4 separate regions of the Homo sapiens genome follow, and regions 1, 3 and 4 are each linked to region 2. Evidence: promoter capture Hi-C in human tissues and cell types (Jung and others, 2019). All regions are on one chromosome and are shown on one strand. Each heading gives the region's core, a stretch centred on a gene start or on the middle of the fragment in contact. The rest is flanking DNA. Distances are from core to core; before and after follow the strand shown.

Region 1 (4,776 bases), core at 347-2,846, 77 kb after region 2:
AACCCCTAGATTAGTGTTTGGCTTAATAATGAGATACTATAGAAGTCAATTTGAAACATAAAACCGACCATCACAGACTGTATCCAGAAGGGATACAGATCCAGAATAGTCATCGACAACAAATTCATTATGGAAAATTGAGAGTCTAGGCCTATCTACCCACAAATAGCACCCAGACAGGTCAATGATTTCACCTCTTGTCCCTCCTGGTCTACCACTTCCCCTTCTTACTCATTCTAGAGCTATGCCTTGCCACACAGGATTTTGTATTATCATCTTAATTTTACAAATGAGGAGGTGTTCAGAATGGTTAAATATCTGAGTAGCTGACCCCAGGCCACTCACTGGTGCTGATATTTTAGCTCCAGTCGGCCTGACCTCTTCCAAGAGAGCAAGCCCACTTTCAAACAATATAGACTTCCTACACCCCTTCTTCTAACCTGTTAGTTGCCTCTCCTTTGAGCTCTCATGATAGCCCATGAAAATCTGAAACCTAACTCTTACCTCTTTATAATTGTCTATTCAATTCCCTGTCTCCCCCACTGAAATCCAAACTCCTGGTCCTCCCTCTGTGTGCATTGCCTCATCTGATTCTGACATATACATGGTATGAGACACACTTGCTCAGTGTTCCCATTTCCAGAAAAGACTGTAAAAAGCAAGAGGTGAAGGGCCTCAGTGTTCACATTTCCATAAGCACCTGCTCTCTCCGGCCATAGCTTATAGATCCCAGCATAGACACCTGACCCAAGCTGGGTCAGCCAAATCATCTTGTGAGAATCTGAAACTTGAATGGAAGGACACAGTAGTGACAGACAATAAAGAGAGCTGGCTTCCTGGCAGCATCTGAGAGAGTTAGCTCTATAAATCCTGTCGCTTGAGACATCAAAGCTGCCCCATCCCTGCCTTCCTGAGGCTTAGTTATTCAGCAATTCTTTCAATTCAGTCCCCTGAAATCATTAGGGTAAAGGTTAAACTGCTAAAACAAAGGGCCCCCAAATGTAATGGCTCAAACAAACTCCATGTTTATTTATTGCAAATAACAGTCCATCGGGACTGCTCGGTTCCATGCAGTCATTTATCGGCCCTGACCGCCAGCAGCTCTGCCTCCTTCAACACTAAGTGCCTGTCAGAGCAGCTGGGGCTGAAATGATTCCAGCCAGAAACAAGGAGGGGAAAAGATGCAGAAGTGAACCTGCAAAGTCTTTGGGGCAAGGCCTGGAAGTGACACCTAAAACTTCTGCTCATGCTCCCTGGCAGGAACTTGAACATCAGCCACACCTAGCTGCACGAGTGGGGCTGGGCCATGTCCTTGGCTGGGCAGCCACACCCTGCTTCAACTCCGTTGCTATGGAAGAAGGAAGAACAGCTTTGGCTGATGCCAGCAGTCTCCAGCTATGAGACATTTCGAATGAATCTCCCCTCCACCCACCAAATAGTTAAAGTCTATTTCTGTTGCTTACAATCAAAAGAGACTTAGTTAACACAGCAGATGCCCTACACTCCTGATGAACAGAGAGCTCATTGACTGATCATTTAGAATACATCTGTATTTTGGGGACTGGCAGTTCTACACCTGGGGTAGGAGGAATCTGATGGTGTCAGAGATCGACAGAAATGAATTGTAATCCTTCTGGGGCCAGGAAAGAACAGAACTCTTTAGAGTTTCATCAAATCAAGGCCTGGTTCTCAGATGCTGGGGAGACTCTGACCTACAAGGAAAGGCTGCTCTTGGGGACACAGATTCAGGTGGAAGGCGACTCATGCTGAAGCCTTATCAAACTTGCCCAGTACCATCCACAGAGTGGACCATGTGAGGACCCAGCGGCACGCTCAGCGGTCCCACTGTCCCACAGGAATGTCCACATGTAGCTAAGGTATTGGTGCTGGGGCTGTCTCTTTGGAAAGAATCCAAACAGTTCTAAAAGGTAGGTCAGTGCCTAGGTACCCATGAGCACTGCCCTCCCCCAGACCAGCCCTAACTCCTACAGACACAGAGCCCTGAAAAACGCTTCCTTGTGCTTTGAGTACTTTTTTTTTTTTTTTGATACAGAGTCTCTCTCTGTCACCCAGGCCTGAGTTCAGTGGCTCAATCTTGGCTCAATGAAACCTCCACCTCCCAGGTTCAAGCAATTCTCCTGCCTCAGCCTCCCAAGTAGCTGGGATTACAGATGCATGCCACCACACCAGGCTAATTTTTGTATTTTTAGTAAAGATGGGGTTTCACCATGTTGGCCAGGCTGGTCTCAAACTCCTGACCTCAAGTGATCTGCCCACCTTGGCCTCCCAAAGTGCTGGGATTACAGGCATGAGCCATCGTGCCCGGCCCTCCTTGTGCTCTCGAAATGGAGGTTTCCACAGTCATCTGGTGAGCTATTAAGCTGCTTGTGTTAGCTGTTCTTATGTTGCTATAAAGAAATACCTGAGGCTGGGTAATTTATAAAGAAAAGAGGTTTAATTGGCTCACAGTTCTGCATGCTGTACAAGCATGGCGGTGGCACCTGCTTGGCTTCTGGAAAGGCCTCTGGGAGTTTGTACTCATGACAGAAGGTGAAAAGGGAGCCACCACCTCACATGGTGAAAGCGAGAGCAAAAGAGTGTGAGTCGGTGGGCTAGGGGGTGCCAAACACATTTAAACAAGCAGATCGCGCCAGAATTCACTCACTATCATGGAAACAGCACAAAGCCATGGGGGATTTGCCTCCATGACCCAAACACCTACCACTGGACCCCACCTCCAACACTGGGGATTATATTTCAACATGAGATTTGGGCAGGGAAAAATATCCAAACTATATCACTGCCCCCAACTATGACTGAACCCTCCAGGTGCCGAGGGACCCAGAACCCAAGAAGCCTGGGTGGGTCCAGGGATAAACCAATGGTGGCCACATGCCCAGAGGGGCTGCCAGCCTCCTGCTCCCCTCGGGGTCACCGCCTCCTGCCCCTCACTAGCTCCCTTTTGGAAGAAGCACCAGGTAGCTCCTGTCTATGACAAAGGGGGTTGTTCATAGCTCAAATAGTATGGAAGGGGAATTTTCTTAAATTACATACAAGAAAATGAGAAGGAAAAGTTCCATGTGGCCAAAGGAATGTGACTCTGTGGGGAGGTGAGAGGACATTGAAAGGCTTGCTTACTAATTTTCCAGATGTGCATTGCATTTTCTCATTCATCTGTGTTTTCACCTACAGGATCTCATTTGATTCTCAAAGCAACCCTGTGAGGTCAGCCAGGCAGGTGTTTTGATTCCATTATATGAATGAGAAAACCGAAAGTTTTTAATATTATGTTATATTATATTATATTCTTATATTTCTTATGTCAATTTCTTAACTCCAAGCCTGATGACTTTCCCTTTGGAAATAAGACATCGTTGTGAGCACTTACTACATCCTAGGTGTTCTGCCTTCCCTTAAGCTATTGTGTCCAAGCCTCACATCATCTAAGTCAACTGAATGAGGGAAGTGCTCTTATTATTCCCATTTGACAGGTGAGAAGACAGACTCAGAAACACTGGGAGGAAGATTTCCCACAAACTGATATAAAATCTGAATTTCACAACATTATAATATCTTAAGGCTACTTGATTTCCAGAGGTGATCAAATTTCACCTGTCTTGAGCCAAAAATGCTCATAGGGATTCAAGAAGATTCACCACCTCCCCTGGCTACTCCACAAGGCCCCTCACAGATTCTAAATTTTAATTTCAGGAACCTCTATCTTTGATAGAGACACAACTATTAAAACCTGGAAAATCCCCCCAAAATTAGTCTTTAACAAGGGACTCCAGATTGACCCAAACCACATTCTTCCCAGGTCTACTCAGCAACTCAGGGACACTGTGCACATTTTGCACTAACAAGAATTCCATAACTCTAAATTAAGTTTAAGGTAAGACAAAGCATGGATCGATTGCTTTCCAAGTGGGATGCTCTCTCCTGGCATCCAGTGATCTCTGCAAGAGGCCCCTGCTTGTGCTTCAACAATGGCAGGAGTGCCAAATTCCAGGTGTATTTCCTGGGACTCAAGCCACATATCCAAGGATTCTCAAACCTGTGAGTGGATTGAGAGCAAACCTCAGGTGGCACATATTCCATTTCCCTTCAGAGAAGTCTAAGTGCTCCTGTCTGAAACCAGGCAGTTCCTTCTGAGCACCTCTTTCAAATAAATCCCTGGTCCCAGTGAACATTAGCCCAGGGTGAATCATTGTCAAGTACCCCAGCCAGGAGAGCACTTTCTATCTTGGAAAGGGAATAAAAAAAAAAATCTCAAAGATAATAAGAGCTGCCTAAGAAGATGTTTGTTCATTTAGTCCTGCCAGTCATGAGCTTCATTTGTCAGGGTTTTCAATTAGATCCCATCACACACAGTCCCCTCTCCAGTCAGCCCCAGACAACTTTTGTTTGCATTACACGGATGAATAAGGATGGACCTTTGCAGGCTTTCTTACCCTCTCTGCCTCCTGCCCTGCCTTTTTCCAGCATGCTGGAATCCTTCTCCCTTACCTGACCATAAAACCTAATTGCTCTTTGTCAAACATCTACCTTGCTTTTCTTTCTTTCTTTTTTAAACAGAGACAGGGTCTCGCTGTGTTGGCCAGGCTGATCTTGAACTACTGGCCTCAAGCAATATTCCTGCCTCACCCTCTCAAAGTGTGGGCATTACAGGTGTGAGCCTCCATGCCCGGCCTATGTTGCTTTTCCATGTGACTTTTTTTATAGTGCTGAAAAGAATTTCAATGTCCAAAATAAAACCCCAATTTTTGGAATGCTATT
Region 2 (5,160 bases), core at 961-3,460:
CCCTCCGCCCCCTCCCCCCACACTGCCTCTTCCCTCTGTGCATGACTCACCCTTCAGGAGCTGTTTCAAATGCCTTACTTTTAATGTTTCCTATCACGATAGAAATCCAACAGATTGGCATCAATTAAAGGGAACCCCCAGTTTTGCAATCCTCAAACTCAAAAGCATTTTCTGGTTTCCTTACTGCCTTCATGAAAACCAAGGTGCTCTCATGCAAGATCCCCCACGTGCTGGGGGCTGCCCCTCCTGGGCTCCCTGGGGGTCACGTGCCCTGGAGAGGCCACAGAGGACGACGTCCATGACTAACCATGCCCACCGGCTGGGAAAAGTTCAGCTTCCGCTCCAGGCCCCCCAAACACAAAAAGATTATAATTGGCAGGGCTGCAAAATTGTTTTGTTTACTGTCAGATAGGAAGTACAGAAGAGAACGCTGATGGTATTTTGACACCCCCCCCAAAAAAAAAGTGGGCAGGCATTTTTTTAACCATTGTGAATAGAGTTTCAATAATCACAGTTCCCACCCAAAATAGCTGCCTACAGGAGGTGGAGGAGAATCTGTTGTGGTGGTTAAAGAAAATAAGAATTAAAAAGTGGAAGGGATTTGTGGAGCTGGAGAATCAAGACTGTCATCTGCATCTCCGTGGAAGGGTGCCCTGAGGAAGAGGTGTCACTGGAGAATCCCTCCCAGAACATGCAGTCTTGTCAGGACTGGGAATCGAACTCCCCAGCTGCGGGTTTAACGGAAATCAGAGGGATGAAAATCATCTAAACTCTTCAATGCCCCTAGGACTTGGAAGATCACCCCCAGACTATCAGCTTCAGAGTATCCCGCAGGTAGGCAGCGCAACTGGTGAAGTGCGGTGGGCACACAAGCAGAAGCTGCCTTCGCAGAAGAGGAAGAAAGTTCGAGACCAAGCACATCGCCTGCTTCCCCATGGGTCCCTGCTTCCTAGTGACTCACCTACCTAATATCTCCCTTTAGCAGAAGCCAAAGGCGGAGGAGGCAGGGGGAGAAAGGAGTTTCCCAAGGGTCTCAGAGCAAGAGAGGCCCCTGAGGTCTCGCGATTTAGAATGCTCAAGGGTGCTTCTGGGCTGAACCAGCTGCCTGCCGGGGTGAGCTGTTTTACTTCAAGAGCAGTTAGCAGAAGCAGTGTGGATGGTGACTTCAGCACCACCTCTGCCACAAATGCACCTGTGCACCAAAACAACCTGCGCACCTACACGGAGCCACCCCCTCCACCAGCCTCCACCTCCCAGAGCTGCGGGGATGCTCCGGGCCAGGCACCCCTTCTGGGGACAAGGGTGTAAGCTTCACATGGTACCAAACCGAACTCTCTATCCCGTTTTTTGGCTTTTTCTTTTTTTTTTTTTTTCAGGATACCCCAAGCCTGGAAAGTCTTCCAGAGTTTTCGGGAGCTAATTAATTATGTGATTTCCTCTCCTCTGAGAACTGTTTTGCTGGCGTGTCACCAAGTTGTCACGTAGGTGCCCACCAGGTCAAACAGAATAGACCATCCTCACCCACCCACCCCGGGGAATGTCTCCTTCCACCAAATAAAATGAACTGAGACAGGCAGGAAGGAGGCAGAAGTTTGAGGAAGGACTCCAGTTGAAGGTCACAATAGTTTGGGGAAGGCAGATCAAGGTAATACGAAGGGGACAGACCCTATAGCGGAAAACACAAACAACCAATCACGTTTCTCTCGGAACCAGCCTATCCATGATGGGTGCACCAGGAAACAGCACACCCTGGGATCCAACTTCTTTCACCCAGCACACCCGAATCTCCACCCCAGCCCTGCAGACACCCTAGCCTGAGACCAGACCTATTTAGACAGACCTGAGCGCAGCTAATTAGGAGTAGTAAACAAGCCCATTTCTTGCCAGCGCAGAAGTTTCCCAAATTGTCCGCTTGTTTTCCTCCCAACAAAAGACAGTGATTTCCCACCTTTATCACATTCCCTCCCAGAAACTTTTCTTTCTGCAATCCCTCCACCTAGGCTAAACTGCAAAGCCACTGGCAATGGAGACGCAGGCGCTGCACCCCCGGGACGCAGGCAGAGGTACCTTTTCCGCGAGGCAGAGGGGCCGCCGGTGCCCAGAGGCCAGCTGCCCTGCCGAGCAGTAGAGCGAAGCTGTGGGCTGGAGCACGCTGAGGATTACACGTTCCTGTCTCTGCGACCAGACCTTTCGGCAGCTCGGACCAACTGTGCTAGCGATGCACTTAGCAATTATCTGCTGGCTCCGACGCCCCGCCCTCTGCTCTTGCGATTGGCTCTCCAGTCCCGGGCAGGACTGCATTGGTTTCAGCCGACCTCACTCATTGCTTTGGCTCCTACTATTATCTAAGCCATCAAAGGAAATAATTCCATGTTTCATTGACAACCTGTAAGGCTCTCCTCCAGCCCAATGTGGGGGCAGGACCGGGAGGCCAGTGGAGAGAGGGGAGAGGAGTAGGAAAATGTGGGGGAGCGGGGTGGGGGAAGGAGGTGGAGGGGAGAGGAAAAGAAGGAGAAACTGTGGGGGGGTAGGAGGGTAGGAGGGAGAGAGAGAGAGAGATGGAGCTATCAAGCAATCAGATTCTTGCTCTAGCATTTTAACTTCCACAAAACAGAGCCCATAGCAACAATTTTCTGGCTTTATTTTCCCCCTAACTGGTAAATGTTGCTGAGGGCAGAGAGAATAATAACTATGGGGTGTCTGCCGGCATGAGACAGACTCTAGAAAGCCGAGCAAGGTTGAGGGCTGAAGGGATGGAGTAATGCTTTTCACAGGGCCACCCTGGAGGACATGTGAAGGACATGGCAGATTGCTTGGGGAGCATAGTAGGTGCATACCTGGAGTTTATCTATCAGTACTTTATCTCACAGTCCCCCTCATCCCCCAACCTGAGGAGACAATTTTCCTTTGCACCCTGTCCAAAGAGTCTCAGAAGAGCTATTCTTAAAATCCATAAAACTCTGGAGTTTCTCACTGTTCTCACTGGGAGGTCCAGAAAGCCGAGCATTCTAGAGTGAATGATTCTGCTGGGACCCTCACTTTGGTTTATTCTGACATGGCTTAAATTAATCGCTTAGACTTTCATCAACAACCTACGCACGTGAAGAGAGAACATACCCATCAAAGGGTGGGGACAGCTTAAACACTTTTCCTTGTTCACCAAGAAATCATAAAGTCTCACCCTAGTTAAAATGGCTTTTATCCAAAAGACAGGCAATAACAAATGCTGGCAAGGATGTGAAGAAAAGAGAATGAACCCTCCTACATTGCTGGTGAGAATGTGAATTAATGCAGCCACTATGGAGAACAGTATTGGGGTTTGTCAGAAAACTAAATATAGAGCTACCATCTGATCCAGCAATCCCACTGCTAGGTATATACCCCCAAAAAAGAAATCAGTATCTTGAAGAGATTCCTGCACTGCCATGTTTATTGCAGCTCTGTTCACAATAGACAAGATCTGGAAGCAATGTAAGTGTCCATCAACAGATAAATTAGATGAAGAAAATGTGGTACATATGCGTAGTGGAGTACTATTCAGCCATAAAAAGGAATGAGATCCTGTCATTTACAACACCATGGATGGAACTGGAGGACATTCTGTTAAATGAAATAAAACAGGCATGGAAAGACAAACTTCACATGTTTTCATTCATTTGTGAGAGCTAAAAATTAAAACAATTGAACTCATGGACAGAGAGAATAGAATGATGGTTACCAGAGGCTAGGAAGGGGCGGGGGTGGAATGGTTACTAGGTACAAAAATAGAGTTAGATAGAATGAATAGGATCTGGTATTTGACAGCACAACAGGGTTATTACAGTCAGCAAAACATATTGTACATTTTAAAATAACTGAAAGAGTACAATTGGATTGTTTGTAACAAAAGGAAATGCTAAATGCTTGAGGTGCCAGATACCCCATTTACCCTAATGTGATTATTACACATTGCATGCCTGTATCAAAATATCTCGTGTACCCCATAAATATATACACCCACTATGTTCCCATAAAATTAAAAATTTTTAAAAATTAAGAAGAAATCATAAAGCACAAATTTTGACCTTCCCCTCTCCTTAATGTATTTGTCACCATATGGAAAAGACATCACTTGGCAGCTAAATTTTCTTAACTAGGTAAAATATTTATTATTAATGTTTCTAAAATGAAAGAGCTTTTATAAATCAATAAGTACAAGACCTATAACCCAATTCAAAAATGGCAAAGGACAAAATGGGCTGAATTTTTTAAGAGAGAATTATAAAAGCGTCTTTTAAAGAAAGCTTTTAAAATATCAAATTTCAGATGATCCAGAAACTAACCCTTCAGCCTTCTTATCCTAGGATCTCCATGTCTTTGGTGAGGCTCTGGTCCCAGTCCTGCCCTGGCCTCCCCTGGGGCCTTGAATGGCTGTAGTCCTTATCTTCAGCTGCGTCCTCTGCAGCAAATGGCAGGTGCCCCACTGCCTTGTATGGTGACTTTCTATTTCATGCATACATGCCTGGCTTCCCTAAATACATTTCAAGCCCTGTAAAGACAGAGATGGTATCATGCATATTTTTATCACTCCACAGATAGCACCTAGCACTCAATAAGTGGGCTGACTACTAAAACCCAATTCAAAGCATCCAGGGTGCACAGCCCTAAGCCTCATGCGACCCTCATTCCACTGCAACTACTCTTCCAGCAGAGCAGAGTGTGGAGGGGGCCCACTCTGGAGTCCAAGAGCTAAAAATTCAGGACTAACCACTGTGAAATGCCTGTGAAATGCGGCAGCTCCAGAGTCACTCGAAGCTCTCTGTGTTCTCTCTGGAAAATGAGGCAGGTCTTCACCCAGTACCTTCCTCCTCCCTCAAGCATTTGAAGGAAATGAAAGGATGTGGGATGCACATTTTACTTGTGAGGCATGACCTCAAAAAATGAAGTCCTTTCCATAATGGCTTTCCAAATATCAGCATGAGTAGGAGACAGTGACCGTATATTAGGAATTCAAAACTAGGGCAAGGGATGTAGCAAAATATTTGTTTTCTATTTCATTCCTTTGTCTAGGTGAAATCACACAAAGGCACAATAATGAAACTAAACTTAGCTATACATTTGAAATTGACACTGTCCTAGAAAATCTGGTGTGTTCAGTCATGGTGTAAAAACCATAAATAA
Region 3 (4,438 bases), core at 1,766-4,265, 71 kb before region 2:
CACACTCCAGCCTGGGTGACAGAGTGAGACTCCATCACACACAAATATACATATATATACACATATACATATACACACACACACACGTGTGTGTGTGTGCGTGTGTGTTTATGAAGCCATAGCCACAGAAATTTGGAAGTCCTTAATTTCAAACGATGGACTTTTTTAGATAATTCTTTAAAGCTCAAATTGATTTCTAACACTTGGTTGCCTTTTAACAATGACTATACGAATTTTTTCACAGGTGCTGATTTTAAAAGTTTTCATCAAACATTTGCTTTCATCAAAACATTGCTGCAAAGGAATTAATGATGAATAAGCATATAACTTTGCATATTTGATAGACTTCACAGCTTCCAAAGCATTTTCACAGGTACAATTTCGATAGATCTCATTTGGTCACCACAAAATCCTGAGGAGTATGCAGGGCCCATTGACTGTCTTTCTGGGTGCGTATGTGTGTGTGTTATTATAGTTATTTTTATTGTGCACAGAGGAATCTGAGGCCCAGAGGAGTTTGAGGAATGATAGTGACAACTGGCATTTGTCAGACTTGTCAGACAAAAAGAAAATTGCTGGATAAGCCTTCCAATATAAAATTACTTACAAGTTCTTACACTTGGAAACTCATGTTCTTAGCAAGACCCAGTCTCTACTAAAAATAAAAGTAAAAAATTAGCTGAGTGCAGTGGCATGTGCCTGTAGTCCCAGCTGCTCAGGAGGCTGAGGTGGGAGGATCGCTTGAGCCCAGGAGGTGGAGGCTGCAGTGAGCTATGCTCGTGCCACAGCACTCCAGCCTGGATGACTGAGTGAGACCCTGTCTCAAAAAGAAAGAAGAAAGAAAGAAAGTAAGAAAGAAAAGAAAAGAAAGAAATTCATGTTCCTACTAGTATATGTTCTTTTGAAAGCAGAACATGCCCTAGTAGCTCTCAGCATCTTGGGATGCCGCAGCACTCCAGCCTGGATGACTGAGTGAGACGCTATCTCAGAAAGAAAGAAAGGAAGAAAAAAAGAAAGGAAGAAGGGAAGGAAGGAAGGGAAGGAAAGGAAAGAAAGAAAGCAAAGAAAAATAAAGAAAGAAAGAAAAGAAAGAATGAAAGAAAGAAAGAAAGAAGAAAGAAAGAAAAGAAAAAAAGAAAGAAAGAAAAGAAAGAAAGAAAATAAAGAAATTCATGTTCCTACTAGTATATGTTCTTTTGAAAACAGAACATGCCCTAGTAGCTCTCAGCATCCTGGGATCTCCCAGTTCTCTTTACTCAATCCACAGCACCTCATTTCTTCCTCATCCTCGGACACAGGCCAACCTCTCTCCTCTCATCCTCTGCTCCCAATAGAGGATCAAAAAGTGGTCTGTTGCTCCCCGATTCTAAACAGCCAGTGCCACTAATTTATGACTTTGAAGAGTATTTGCACTTTAAGACTTGGTTATAACTCTGCAGAAGGCATCTTGATTGTGATAAGCACATGTTGGGTATTGGCCATCAGGTGGAAGAAATTTTCAGGGAGGAAGTGGCCCACGGCTGCTTCATTACTTGCTGCTGTCTTTCCCTACAGTGTTTAACAAAGGTCTTCTGAGCTTATCTTTGGGGTCATAGGTGGAGACAGGAGCTGGCACAATGCATTGCACCCTGGATCCCTGAAAGGAACTTTGTGGATGCACAGTGACAGATTTAACAAGTAGAGAAAGCCCAAGCAGAGTCTCCAGGGGCTGAGATACAAATTTTAAAAAAAGGATCTGGGAAGCAGCCAGAGTCTGACAATGACATCCCCAACCCTCACTCCCAACCCCACACATATACACTTGTCCTGGCCTTGACCTCAGACTGTACAGGCTCAAGTCCTGTGGTTCTTCAAATGTGCCCCAAGTCCAGAAGGAGGATCCTGGAGTCCTACAACAATGACCCGGGCTGCTCCCTCCTACATTTGCAAACAGAGTGGGAAACGCTGTCCTTACCTCGTAGTGGGCCACACGCTGCGATTCGGAGATCAGCTGTGCACTGCACACCTTGCAGTAACTGTCTGTGAATAAATCCTGATCAATATCGGAGGACTTCATCAGGCTACAAGAGAATCAACAGAAAAGAAAAATGAGTCCACTGCTTTGATGTTTATGCAAGATATTAACCGTATGAAAAGCCAGGATCACAGTAACAGGTCTGACAATGGTGACAGAGGGGTGGATCTCCCTACACTCTTGACGTTATCATATCGATTAACCATAATATGTGCATAGGTTATAGTTTTCTCACAAATGCCCAACAGAGTTGCTTTACCCTAAAAAATAGAAATCCAGCTATAGTTTTTCTGTTGAACAAGCCAGACTTATATCTAATGCCTTGTCAAGAGTTTATGTGAGGGCAGGGCACCGTGGCTCACGCCTGTAGTCCCAGTGTTTTGGGAGGCCGAGGTGGGAGCATCACTTGAGGCCAAGAGTTTGAGACCAGCATGGGCAACATAGAGAGATTCTGTCTCTACAAAACTAAAAATTCTTAAAAAGGATTTATGTGAGATATTTTTGCATGTTATATATATTTATATGTTAATTAAATGTTGTAAGCACCTAATATATCCAACAATAGAAAGTGGGTTAAATGAACTTTGATATATCATCACACTAGAAAACTATGTGGCTTCCAAATCCAAATTCAGATAAATTATTCTTTCAGGGAACATTAGGAAAAGGTTTACCATTAACAAAAGAGATTTTTAAGTACATATAGCATTATACAAAATTTGTTTTAAAATATGTATAGATGCATTAAAAAACATTCCAGGAAATTATAACATAATTTTAATAGCACTTATCTTTGGGAAATGACAGAAAATTGCTTTTGCAATTTTCTTCATTTTTAAATTTTTCTTCAACAATCACATATTACTTTTGTAGTCAAGGAAGAAGTTAGCTTTGTCTAGAGCCTTTAAGCGGTATAAAATCTAGTTTAGAGTTAAATAGTTGCACTTAGAAAATTAAAAAATACAATCAGACTAAACTATAACTTTCCTTGTAACCCCATACTTTGCAACACGGGGAGACCTCACTATTCAAGCTGACTCTTCTCCATTTAGGGTGGTTGAATTCATAAAGGCCACCTCCACCACCGCACACCACAAATGATCCCACAAAGTAAATAAACATATTCTCAAATTCCAAACCCGGAATCAAAATGCAGCCAAGGATCTCAAGCTTCTGAAAGCGATCTGTCGGAAACGGATCTTATGGCAGCTGAAGGATCTCATGTTACCACCCTGGAAACACACCCCAGTGCATCCGATTCCTTCACCCAGCCCACAAACTCCACTTGTTTCACCTCCTACCCGTCAAGCAAGAAGTAAAGACCATGGCAGACAGCATGCTGTATGAAGAGGCAAAAGAATCTCAGACAACAGCAATATGGTAGGCACTTTGGACTTTATCTTATTTCACCACCATCATCTTACCTATAAGACAGTCCAAAGTTACATTGCTAGTCATTTGCATAGCCAAAAATATGGCCTCGCTTGCATGATTCCAATTTCCACAAGCTAGATCCATCCTAGGTCTGATGCTACCACATGGCATTGGATGAGTCACTCAATGCTCCATACCTCAGTTTCCCCCATATAAAAATTGAGATAATAATATTTACCATGCCTTCTAAGAAAGTGATAGTGAAGATCACAGGGAGAAATATATGAGAAAGTGCTATATCAACCGTAAAACTCTCTGCATTTGAAAGGGATCAGTAGTATATTTTTAATAACATCCTGATGTTGGCAAGATGTTGGCCAAGTCCTGAACAATGCAACAGTGAACTGTGTAAAGTAAAGTGAACTGTGGTTCACTTTAGGTGATTTTTGAAATGATCTAAATAACCAGACCACATTCATAAAGTATCTGCCTGAAATAAAAGGATGTCTGCCTCAAGTACTCCAATCTCACGTTCTGTCCTTGGCCCTGGCTCTAGTGGCTCATTCAGGGCATTTGTCTTCAGCAATTCAAAAGGATTCACAGTTTCTGCTCCTAAGAGACAATAATGCCTGTGGTTTTTCAATGCCCCCAGCAAGCAATAGTTATGCCAGGTACCACTGTGTCTCATGGTTGATATGGGCCTGTTATTTCAAAAAGGACCACACCTGGCAGGTGGCCCAATTGGCCTGGAGTCTAGCACCTGCTGTGCCTGCAGGTTCACCTCCTCCCCCACAAGGCAACCTGTTCCAGAGAGGGCAGAAGCTCTAGTTGTTAAGTTTTTCTTAGGTTGAATTAAAATCTGTCCCACCGTAGTTTTCATTCAGTGATTCTGTCATTAGGTACAACATGGCACCACACCAGTCTCCATTTTTTCATGAGATATCCTCCCTTGAGTGTCTGAAGATAACACTCTTCTATCTACTTCCAAGTCCTACCCAGCCTCATCATCTTGCCCTGAGTCTATTTCATTATAGTCCATCTTCAAAAGCA
Region 4 (4,548 bases), core at 1,268-3,767, 98 kb after region 2:
GCAGGCACCTGCAACTGTGTGAGCTGGGCAGCGCTCGCTGACACAGAATCTATCCAGACCCTGTTCCTGAACCTCACTTTACAAACACAAAGGAATGATAGAAAAGCCATTCCCAGTTTTCCGAATTACTGAAAACAAGGCAATATCGAAATATTAACTACAAACAGTGAAGAAAACAATTGTATGGAAGGCTTTCTGCCTGTATCTACCTACATTCAAAAGTTGTTTCTTTCACCTCTCCCTGCCACATCCTCCCCGGAGTTCTAACGTTATTATTATGGCTGGTCCATGGTAACGAGCTATTAAAAGGGTTAAAGCTTTATTTGTTTGAGTTTCTTTTCCTATATAGAAAAAGCAATAAACATTACCAGGAATGTATCCTGAGCACACATTCTCTCTAATGCATTAACAAAAGCAATCAATATAAATGACATTTGTCAAGGAACCTAATTCTGTGAACCCACGCCATTCAGGTGCTCCTTTTCCAGGCAAAACCTGCCACCATGTGGAAGACGGTGGCATTGCAGCCCCTTGTCCAAAAATCTCGCTTCCACAAGGACAAAGGGACGTTCTGAGCCAAAACACAAAGTCAAAACACAGCAAAGGGCTCCTCAAAACGATGATCAGCAAGAAACCATTCTCTGTCTACTTTCTCAGCTTGCACCATCAAAGGGATATCAAGAATTCGCCGTTTACTTCGGTTGAAAAATCAAGTCCCGGGCTCAGAGTCCCCCTGCCCTAGATAATTCCTCTTGATAAAAGAACCATAGATTATCAGAAGGGAACTTACAGATTACCCGGTTCCTTCTTCTTCTTCTTTTTTTTTTTTTTTTAACAAACAAAAGGGAAAGGAAAAGCAACAGGATGGTGGGGATGTTTACCACTTCTTGTGCTGTGTTCTCTCTATATATAAGTAATAGACAAAGGAGGTAACGTCTCCGGAGACCCTATCTGGAAGGTAGCAGGGTAGTTCCCTCTGTAGGGGGGCTCTGCCACTGCTGCGATCACCTCCAAGCCCCCTTTCAGATCAGCTAGGAGAGGCACCATAGACAGGCCAGAGTTGTCTCTGAGGAAATGAGGGATGGGCCAGCACAGGCCGTGCAGGACGGAACCCGAGTCCCAAGTGAAAAAGCTGAGGGAAAGGTTCTGCAGGGAACCTGCAGGAAATATGGGAGAACCCTGTGAGGTCAAGTGGACACACTTCTGCACATGCCTCCCGACCACCTGGCTTGGTGGTCCACTTTTGGGGTGGCTGGCACTCTTCCTGCAGTACAAAGAATCAGGGTGGTGGCCCCGAGACAGCCCTGGTGGATGAGGATCAGATGAAAGAGACACAGTCCCGCTCCTGGTTTCTCAGAGCACCCTCAATTTCCTCTCCTACAGCGCATGCCAGTGAGAATTATACTTATCTGTTGCTTCCCCATTTGCCCCCGTAGATTATGTGCCTCTTAAAGGAAGGAACTGTATCTCTTCCATCTCTGCATCCTTAGAGCCTAACACAGACCCTGATAAATAACAGGCACCTAATAAATGTTAAATAAAAGGGAAAAAAAAAAGACAGAGGGAGGAAGGACAAAAGGCCCGAGGGAGGGAGGGAAGCCGAGACTAGACTTATGACTGCTGCAGGAACGTTGCTGATGAATGCAGCAGACCCTCAGGTGATTAATTTTAGAAAGTGTTTGTCCCCAGACACATGACAACAGTTCACCCCACGCTGCTTTCCTTGCCAATCAGCAAGGCAAAACCTCAGGACACTTTCTCTTCCCTGACATAACACCCCTGGTAGGCTGGGCTTTTGTGGTGATTTTGTTCTTTTAATTTTTAACATTATTTTCTAAAAATTTCAAATCTACCAAAAAAAAGAAAAGAAGAGAATAGAAAGGCCAGGCACTGACACACCTGTAATCTCAGCACTTTGTGAGGCTGAGGTGATAGGATAGCTTGAGGCCAGGAGTTCGAGACCAGCCTGGGCAACATGGCAAGACTTCATCTCTACACACTAAGTACAAAAAGTAGCCAGGCATGATGGCACACACTACTCAGGAGGCTGAGGTGAGAGGATCACTTGAGCCCGGGAGGTCAAGGCTGCAGTGAGCTGAGATCATGCCACTGCACTCCAGAACAGGAAACAGAGAAAGACTCCGTCTCAAAAACAAAAAAAAAAATGCAAGACCACCAGCATGTCATTCATGGAAATCCACCCTTTTATTAGGATCAAGTTTATCCTTCCTGTATTTCTTCTTTGCAAAAATTAGCAAATGTACACACACACACACACACACACACGATTTAGTTTCCCCGTGTTTCTTACACAAAAGTTAATAAAACATATGCAACTTTCACATTTTTCTTTTTTCTGCTAATGATATATCTTGAAGAAGACTCGGTGTTCTTTCAGAGAAATCTTCCTCATTTCCATGATGGTGTCAACAGTCTCCCATTATGTGGATAAGCCACAGTTTACTCAACCAGTCTCCTATGGATTGGCTTTTAGTTCATTTCCAACAGTTTGTCATTACAAATAATTCCAGTAATAAATAACTTTATGCGTAGCAGATTGTTTTAAACGTGTGATGAGTAAAGATACATTTTCAGAGAGAATTCTTAGAAGTGGGGTTGCTGGTCAAACTGTAAATGCTATTTTCTGTTTGCTGTTTTCCAATTTCCCGTCCTAGGACCTGTCCTATTTCGCAGGCTCATCAGCCCTGTATGACAGGGCCGGTTTCCCCACAGCCTTGCCAAAGGAGTGCTTTTAAAAAATCTTTCGCATGTTTGCCAAATCCATAGGTGAGAAATGATATCCCCACGCAGTTTTAATTTGCATTCTTCTTTTTACCGTGAAGTTGTATATCTTTTATAAGCTTAGAGGTCACTTATTTATGATTTTTGTGAACTCTTTGTTCATTATTTTTCTCATTTTTCTATCGGGATTTTAATCTTTTATTTCCCTCAATTTCTTTTTTTTCTTTTTCTTTTTTTTTTCGTGTGTGTGTGTGAGAGAGAGAGAAAAAAAAAAAGAGAAAGAGAGAGAGGTTCGTACTCTGTTGCCCAGGCTGGAGTGCAATGATGCAACCACTGCTCACTGCAGCCTGGAACTCCTGCACTCAAGCAACTCTGCCACCTCAGCCTCCTGAGTAGCTGGGACTACATGTATGTGCCACCACACCCAGCTAACTTTTGTATTTTTCGTAGAGATGGTGTCTTGCTATGTTGCCCAAGCTGGTCTGCTAGCCTCAAGTGATCCTCCCCGCTCAACCTCCCAAAGGGTTGGGATTAGAGGCATAAGCCATCATCCCTGTCCATATGATCCATTTTGAGCTAATTTTTGTCGATGGTGTAAGTAAGGGGTCCAACTTTATTCTTCTGCATGTGGATACCCAATTGCCCTAACCCCGTTTGTTTAAAACACTGTTCTTTCCCCCGCTGAATTATCTTAGCATCCTTGTCAAAACTCAATTGACTATAAATTTATGGATTTATTTCTGAGTCCTCAGTTATTTTCTACTAGTCTATGTTTGTCTTTATGCAAGTACTACACTATGGATTACTGTAGTTTTGTATAAGTTTAGAAATTTGGATGCGAGTCTTCCAACTATGTTCTTCTTTTTCAAAATTGTTTTGGCTACTCTGGGTTCCTTGCATATCCATATGAACACGAGGATCACTTCATTAATTTCTGCAAAGAAGCCAGTGTATTTTGAGAGGTATGTGTTGAATCTGTAGATCAATTTAGGTAGTATTGCTATCTTAGCAATATTAAGTTTTCCAATCCACAAACACAGGATATCTTTCTGTTTAATTTCTTTTTTCTTTTTTTTTTTTTTTTTTTGTTTTGAGACAGAATCTTGCTGTGTCCCCCAGGCTGGAGTGCAGTGGCGCAATCTCAGCTCACTGCAAGCTCCGCCTCCCGGGTTCACACCATTCTCCTGCCTCTGCCTCCCAAGTAGTTGGGACTACAGGCGCCCGCCACCATGCCTCGCTAATTTTTGTTGTATTTTTAGTAGAGACGGGGTTTCACCTGTGTTAGCCAGGATGGGCTCAATCTCCTTACCTCGTGATCTGCCTGCCTCTGCCTCCCAAAGTGCTGGGATTACAGGTGTGAGCCACCATGCCCAGACTTCTATTTAATTTCTTTTAAGAATACTTCCTGATTTTCAATGTACAAGCCTTACACACCTTTTGTAAATTTGTTTCTAAGTATTTTATTATTTTCAATGCAACTGTAAATGAAATAGCTGCCTTAATTTCATTTTCAGATTGTTCACGGTCGGTGTATATAAATACAATTGATTTTTGTATGCTCATGTTATTAGTTTTCTATTGCTGCTGTACAAATTACCACTAACTTGGGGCTTTAAATAATGCAAATGTATTATCTGACAGTTCTACAGGTCAAGGGTCCAATATGGTCTCATCGGTGGCAGAAGGGCTACATTTCTCTCTGGAGGCTGTCAGGGAGAAACTCTTGTTTTACCTTTTTCAGTCTCTGGATTCTTGGTTTATGGTCCCTTCCTCCCTCCACATAAGGTCACACCTTGCCATGTTCCA

What was found. Contacts are between HindIII fragments. The study calls those that stand out against the background at their distance.
Region 1: a fragment that was not itself captured here is called in contact with the fragment with the promoter of ZMAT4 in region 2 in 4 of the 25 tissues and cell types used here (H1 embryonic stem cells, bladder, heart right ventricle and 1 more).
Region 3: a contact is called between a fragment that was not itself captured here and the fragment with the promoter of ZMAT4 in region 2, in 2 of the 25 tissues and cell types used here (dorsolateral prefrontal cortex and pancreas).
Region 4: a fragment that was not itself captured here is called in contact with the fragment with the promoter of ZMAT4 in region 2 in 2 of the 25 tissues and cell types used here (hippocampus and thymus).

Annotation. Positions count from the first base shown.
Region 1 is chr8:40,973,389-40,978,164 of GRCh38, forward strand. No RefSeq gene overlaps it. Among named protein-coding and RNA genes, the nearest start is that of ZMAT4, 78 kb to the left of the region's middle. The HindIII fragment of the contact is 6,467 bases long and covers 1-4,776 here.
Region 2 is chr8:40,895,616-40,900,775 of GRCh38, forward strand. ZMAT4 (zinc finger matrin-type 4) reads right to left here and starts at 2,211. Exons shown (of 7, transcript NM_024645.3): 1 at 2,068-2,211. The HindIII fragment of the contact is 9,161 bases long and covers 1-5,160 here.
Region 3 is chr8:40,823,621-40,828,058 of GRCh38, forward strand. ZMAT4 (zinc finger matrin-type 4) reads right to left here. Exons shown (of 7, transcript NM_024645.3): 2 at 1,955-2,060. The coding sequence starts at 2,056. Among named protein-coding and RNA genes, the nearest start is that of ZMAT4, 72 kb to the right of the region's middle. The HindIII fragment of the contact is 5,149 bases long and covers 442-4,438 here.
Region 4 is chr8:40,993,428-40,997,975 of GRCh38, forward strand. No RefSeq gene overlaps it. Among named protein-coding and RNA genes, the nearest start is that of ZMAT4, 98 kb to the left of the region's middle. The HindIII fragment of the contact is 6,921 bases long and covers 1-4,548 here.